2 separate regions of the Homo sapiens genome follow, and region 2 is linked to region 1. Evidence: promoter capture Hi-C in 16 types of primary human blood cells and fetal thymus (Javierre and others, 2016). All regions are on one chromosome and are shown on one strand. Each heading gives the region's core, a stretch centred on a gene start or on the middle of the fragment in contact. The rest is flanking DNA. Distances are from core to core; before and after follow the strand shown. Region 1 holds the start of LSMEM1 (leucine rich single-pass membrane protein 1). Region 2 overlaps LOC105375448 (a long non-coding RNA gene).

Region 1 (3,481 bases), core at 724-3,223:
ATTATTTTGAGGCTCAAGCATTTTGAAGTATTCATTGTCTGTGACTCCTCTTTGATGGGTACTAAATTTCCTGGGAGTGAATTTAGATACCCTGAGATGTAATATATGAAAGAAAAAGCAAATACTTGAGAATGTCCCTAGATTAGACACTTCATGTGAGAATATCTCTTTTTGTGACCCAAAACTCTTTTTTTTTCTTTTGAGATGAAGTTTCGTTTTTGTTGCCCAGGCTGGAGTCCAATGGTATAATCTGCCTCAGCCTCCTGAGTTGCTGGGATTACATGCATGTGCCACCACACCCGGCTAATTTTGTATTTTTAGTAGAGATGGGGTTTCTCCTTGTTGGTCAGGCTGGTCTCGAACTTCCGACCTCAGTTAATCTGCCTGTCTCGGCCTCCCAAAGTGCTGGGAATACAGGCATGAGCCACCGCACTCGGCCCCAAAACTCTTCTTAAAGGTGGTCTTGCAGGTATGTTATAGTTAAAATGAAGTAGGTTGTCTTGCTTTGTTCTTAAGTGGCTTTCCAGAAGTCTAACTGGTCTAAAGGCAGTCTTATCCCCCTCACTGGTGTATAGTTCAATTCAGACTTGAATGCGAGGTATGGGTTTACATCTCATCTCTGCCACTTATAATCAGTGTATCCCTCAACAATTAAATTCCTTAGTCTCCATTTCCTTCCTCCTTCAGGGGAAGTTAATATTCCACAAAGTTAGAAGTTACAGGAGAGGAAAAGTAGTAAACGCCCCAAAATGAGGCAGTTACTTCTATTATATCTTCAAAGGATACATGGCTCAAGGCAGATCAGGTAGTTGGGAGATTTCTTAAAAACAGCATAATAGCTAACATGAACATTTTCATTATTCAGAGAAATTTGACATAGCTTTTTAACGTATGTTTCTGAGAAAAGTTACTAGTTATATTGTCTTCCTCCAAGAATTAGTCTTTGGGTACAGATGAGGCTTGAAAAAATGACATTCCCTCTTAGACTAGGTAGTGTGAAGGGAAAAAAAAAATGACATTCCTCTTCCCCCAAAGCAGAGTGAGGTCCGTATGGGATATAGGTGTAAAGAAAATTTTGGGCCGGGCATGGTGGCTCAAGTTTGTAATCCCAGCACTTTGGGAGGCCGAGGTGGGTGGATCACTTGAGGTCAGGAGTTCAAGACTAGCCTGACCAACATGGTGAAACCCCATCTCTACTAAAAATAAAGAAATTAGCCAGCTATGGTGGCACATACCTGTAATCCCAGCTACTTGGGAGGCTGAGGCAGGAGAATCTGGAAGCAGGAAGGTCTCAGTAGGCTGGGATCATGCCACTGCGCTCCAGCCTGGGCAACACAGCAAGACTCTGTCTCAAAGAAAATTTTGTGGAACACCTATTTTCTCACTGACATGAAAAATGTTTCAAAGATGAATAATGTCCATCAAGCTATGGCAATGGAAGTGAGGATGATAAAGGATTGCACAGTTGTTCACAACCTCACTGTTAGTATCCTGCTGAGATAGTTGGTCTCCTCATCACTGTAGCATCTTTTATGTACAGCAGAGGGCAGAAGCTCCTTGGCATGTATGTGAGGGAACCACATATATGGAAGGCTGTTATTCCTGAGAAAGGAGGATGTGCAGACACTCACAGAACAAAGCCTTTGTAAAGGAAAGGCGGCCGATGAGATGGAGTGCTTCCTTCACCTGTGGTGGGTCTGTATCCATGAAATCGCCCACTCACAATCGCTTTTTGTAGCTACTGGAAGCACTAGGCGTCTGACCTGCCATCATCCTTGTTATGATGTCATAATCATATTCTGTCCGTGTTTATTGCAGTTCTCTGGTTTGTCTGGAGTGTTTGCAAGTCAGTCATCATAGTGGCAGCTTCCGCCTGCTACAGGATATTTATATATGGAAGCATACCATGGCAGGAGTGCTGGAAAGGTGGTGTCAGCTAACAGTTGCTTCAGCCAGATAAGGACGGTAACTTCAGTCCAATAAAAACCTCATCAGTTACCAACTAAATCAGGGCATGGTGTTTTTTTGTTGTTTTCTTTTTAAAGCATAGTTTTAGTAATATATTTACTAAAAACCTTAGACATTATGAAAAAAGTCAGGATTTGGAATCTTACACTGCTTGGCTAAATTGACACAATATAGACCAACAGTTTCATCCTGGGGCTTATGGGTCTCATAGGAGCACCCGTATGCTGAAGAAAGGCAAAGAGAGAACTACAGAATTTGTAGAAAAGTTTTGTTGTAGTTGCTTCTGAACAATTAGTTTTTGTTTGTTTGTTTTGTTTTGTTTTGTTTTTCTGGTAACCTAGCAGTCAAAGCTCACATTTTTGTAAGTAATTTGCATGCTATTACTCTACTGAGACTGAATTATGATTCTCGAGTCTGGGAAGTTTTTGTTGCATGTGCTCTGTGTTTTTCATTTTTGATAGAAATGATTTAGACTTGATTTTAAAAATTACTTCCTGAATGTGAAGAGGCATTGACTGGGAAATGAAATTAAAGAACAAATTACCATGACTCATTCAATAACACTGCTTATTAGCTTTGAATTATGCCCTATTATAACAATTCTGATTTTGTGGCAAGCAATACTGGTGTGAGTTATTTCTGTGGTTTGATACCAAGCACCTGCCTGGTTAAAAAATAAAGCACCAGGCAATTTTTCATAGACAATTATCTTTATTTGTTGGAATATTTATTTGTAAATAGTCAAAGAATTCTTAAATGACAAAAAATCAACTGTTAGCAGTGATCTAAACCAGAGGAAAATGAAATTACTTACATGTTTCCAGTCAAGGTATAAGAAAGGGTTCTGTTAAAGGGATGCTGCTTTAGCCAATCTTGGTGAATAAGCAAATTTGCACACTGGAGTTGAAAGGAGGGTCAAGTTAGTGTGATGAAGAATTGCTAGTAACACTGGCTTCTCCAGCCTTGCTGGTTGTTCCTAGATGCCCTCATTTGGAGATGCCAAAGATAGCAACTACTGGGTGTCAAACAGCCGTGGGGCCTGGTTTTAAGGCCATGTGATCTTGTATCCCTTTACTAGCAGCCTCATGAGTCATTTGCAAGTCATTTGCAGGCTCTTGGAGCCCTGGAACAGCACCCAACTCAGTTTTCTCTGCTAGTTCTTTATTTTTCCATTTGCGTGTTGCAGCTCATTAAAAAAATATTGGAATAGCATATATTTACATTGTGACTTCACTCTAAAGAAGACATTTTCTTTCAAAGCACGTCATGGCTCACTAGGTTGTTGTCTTAGTTTTTTTTGGAGTCACCTTTTGAGTAGATAGCAAGACCAGTAATATGGAGATTTTATTAGCTGTACTCTTAAAGTCAGTTTTTGTGGCCATGATTTTCTAGCTAGGTCTCTATTTTGTAAACATTGATTAAGCCTCAGTATGAAATTGAAGCAACAGCAGATACATTCCTGAAGGGGAAGCTAAGGCTCAAGGCTATTAAGTCAGAGATCCAAAAATGAACC
Region 2 (3,481 bases), core at 711-3,210, 3.9 Mb before region 1:
ATAACAAATCAGTGAAGCATCTACACCTCCATTTATTTTGAATACCTGTGCTACATCACTGTAACCAATGGTATGTTCTTTTGTCCCACAAATGAGCTGAAGACAGGGCCTTACTTTAATATGGAATATACTGATTTTGTTGGGTTCTATTACCTTCTCACGCTGCTAAAAAGTCTTTTCATGTTCAAATTCCACTGTGTTTTCAATGTCAGTTTTTTTTCTTACAAAAGGAAAAGGGTCCCCTGTGGAAGCTTATGAAAGCTGACACATTTTCTTGTGAAATATCCTTCTGAGACCATATGGTTTATCAGTAAGCACATATTTTTAGACCTTTTAAAATGAGTATTATGAAATTAACATGAGATGTTTTTAGAAAAGTGAATGCTATTGACTCAGTAGGGCAGGATGCCTGTCTGCTTTGTGGTTGTTACTCTTTATAATTCCCTGTGAAAGACGTTTTCAGATAATTAAAAAAGGTATTTGGTCTATGGAGCAAAAAAACTTATCAAAAGAGGTTATATAACACATGCATGGCAGCTACTTGTCAAAGTTAAATATACCCATTTCTTTCCCCACAAAGCCGTTAGATCTATTACCACCTAATTGCTTGGAAAATTCATTTTCTTTTTCTCAAATCACAGCCTTAATTGAGGTCTGAAAGCTCACCAAGGGCCTTTTAAATCAGCAAACCTAACTTAAAAAAAATTCTCCTATAATTTAACTTTGTGGCCAGGGACATATTTTTTTTCTTTGAGACAGTTACGGCAGTCAGTACTAGTAGAAAAACCTCTTGCTTTGAGAAATCAGAGAACTGGGGAGCGTGTCTTACTGTTTCTGGTAATGCACACTGGGGCCAAGAGTTCACAGCAAAGTGAATAGATATTAATTGCAAACATATTATTTAATCATGCTGAAACCAAAATATTTTAAACCAACTTATGTGGGTGTTTTATTGTAAATGTTAGGATGGGAAACACAATCTATTCTGCATTCTGGCTATGGAAATCTGCCCTCCACGTGGCCATCTGCAGGAGTACCATATGTGTAACACACACAACTTTATTCCTTCTTACACCAACCCTAAAGTTTGCACAACAAGAAAAAATTTTCAACTTTGGTTTATGACATATCAGGGTGCTTTCAAGCATAAACAGTGATTAGAATATCTAAATTGATGTTTGAAATCAGGATTAATTTTAATTATATAAGAGAAATGAAAATAAATGTGATTAAAAAAATAAACATAGATGCAACCATTCAGGTCAGGGTTGCTATTTCAAGGAGTCACCTTGAGAAGCTATGAACTAATTTGAAATACTCTACCATTTCTCAAAATGTTTTTGAAACTCCTCATTTGGAATTGCCTCAGAGTTAGTTTTTCATCTGCGTCTCCTTATCACTTTAGAATTACATTTTTGTTACAGATGGTGTTGCCTTGCTGGGGCACTTTATTCACCAAGCTTCACTTGGAGTGAATTTTTGTGTTTAGAAACTTACAGGATATGGTGCAAGCAAGTCCAAATATTTTGTGCAACATCACCCTCTCTGGATTGGCTATGTGCCTCTTCTCCTACCCCAGGATAACTTAGATTTAAAATTGGGAAGGAGTAAGCTGGGTGACTGATATGCATTAGTTTCATTTCATCTTCACAAAGTCCTATAAAGCAGGTATTATTCATGTTATTCAGATGAGGAAACAGACTTAAAATGTTTAAGTAATTTAAGACCTCTTTAAACTAATGTAGACCTGGGAGTTATCTGGGACTAAATTTCAATTTTTTCTTCTACAGCTGTCATCTCCATTCAAGGTGACAACATCATTCTGGAATTACAAGTCCTGTTGTGCTTGTGAAAATTTACAATAGTTTTTAATTATGTTGACCATGTACATACCTATGTAAGTTTGGGCCAGTGCATCAGAGATATATTTCACATTCTGTTAGTGATTATGTAGTTGTGAGAGCTGAGGATAGGCGAACAAATGTCATTTGTTTATGCACAGCAATCACTGTGATAGGAAAGCCAAATAATATTGGGCACTGTTGACAGTAATAATGTTTCACATCCTAGTGTTATAAAAATTTGCCTCATTAAACAAGATCAAACAAATGAGCCAATAAGAAGAAAGCCCCATTTCTTCTTCTCCTAAGCAGACCTTAGGAGTAAATAAATGAATGAGAAGTGAGCCTGTGATTCTAATGTAAAAACCTTGGGAGAGATGGACCAGAGATGATTGGGCTTCTGCTTAGGATGATACGTTTGAAGACAAAAGAGCCCATGAGCTGGGTGCCTAGTTTAGGAGCCCATAAGCTGGGTGCTTAGTTTAGGAGGTATGTATGCCTGCTGCTTGCTCAGATGACATAATTCGGAAAAAAAACAGAAATTGGAGGTATGTAATAATCTAGTTACGGTTCAAAAGAGGGTACCATCTTTCCGTATATCACCAACCACATCTTCAACAGAAGCTTACATAGAAACATTGCTTACTATGTGCCAGGTGGAGTTACCTGCTTTGCGTGTGACTTTTCTAGTTTCAGCACTGAAAGTCCTGCATCCTTGAAGCCCCTAAGTCCCAGGCAAACCAGAACATTGGTGTTCGATGCCAGGTTATGTTTTAAAGCTTTATATTTGGTAACACATTTAATCTTCACAACAACCCTATGAGGTAGGTACTATTATTACGTCTATTTTGCAGAAGAGGAAATGCTTGCTTAAAGAGGTGAGGAAACTTGTCCAGGCTTCCATAGCTAGTAGGTAACAGAGTCAGGATTTGAAGTCAGGTAGTTTGGTTCAGTGTTAGGGTGCTTCTTAGAATACTGCCTCTTGAAGGGCTGCCCCTAAGAGTGTCCTGCTTTGTACTAAAGGGAGAAAAAGAGATTGTTGGGAATAGAATGATGGCTTAAAACATAGTCTTACTCTCATGCTGCATACATGAGATATACAGGCAAGAAAACAGGCAATCACTAGATCTGGGAAGGAAGAGAAGCTCTTGTCAGAAAGTAGAGTGAACTATTTGGGTATGTCAGAGGTTAATAACCCAACCTGATTGGTCAGGGATGACATGAAACAATGTGTAACGGCAGCAGCCTGTGGCTTGTTATGTAGGGACTGGTCAATAAACAGAATTATGTCATTAGGCTTCAATTCTGGCAGCTGTAGGAGAATTGACAACTATGACAGTGGCTGTTTAAAAATGGAAATGATTGTTAAGGAAGGATGTGAGCCACTTGGAACTTCCAGGGAAGCAGAGGACAGAATGGGGATATTTAGGATAGAATCAGTCACATTGTGATAATCCCCAAGGCCACGGTAATGTTGGTCTGAATGTCTATGTGGTCCCTGGAAGCCTGGGTTAAATGAACACATAACACTGAGGATATCTTGGTGGGAGATTCTTAGGCATATTCATGATAGGATGCTGATATGTTAATACTATCATCACCACTACAACAACCCAAGAAACAAACACAAATCAAAATAA

Evidence for each region. The method cuts DNA at HindIII sites, captures the fragments that hold promoters and counts their contacts. A CHiCAGO score of 5 or more calls a contact.
Region 2: a contact is called between a fragment that was not itself captured here and the fragment with the promoter of LSMEM1 in region 1, in 3 of 17 cell types (activated CD4 T cells, total CD8 T cells and naive CD8 T cells). The highest score is 9.0, in activated CD4 T cells.

Annotation. Positions count from the first base shown.
Region 1 is chr7:112,479,018-112,482,498 of GRCh38, forward strand. It overlaps LSMEM1 (leucine rich single-pass membrane protein 1), which reads left to right and starts at 1,974. Exons shown (of 4, transcript NM_182597.3): 1 at 1,974-2,329. The HindIII fragment of the contact is 7,612 bases long and covers 1-3,481 here.
Region 2 is chr7:108,618,931-108,622,411 of GRCh38, forward strand. All of the region lies in intron 3 of LOC105375448 (a long non-coding RNA gene), which reads left to right. Among named protein-coding and RNA genes, the nearest start is that of DNAJB9, 51 kb to the left of the region's middle. The HindIII fragment of the contact is 1,005 bases long and covers 1,459-2,463 here.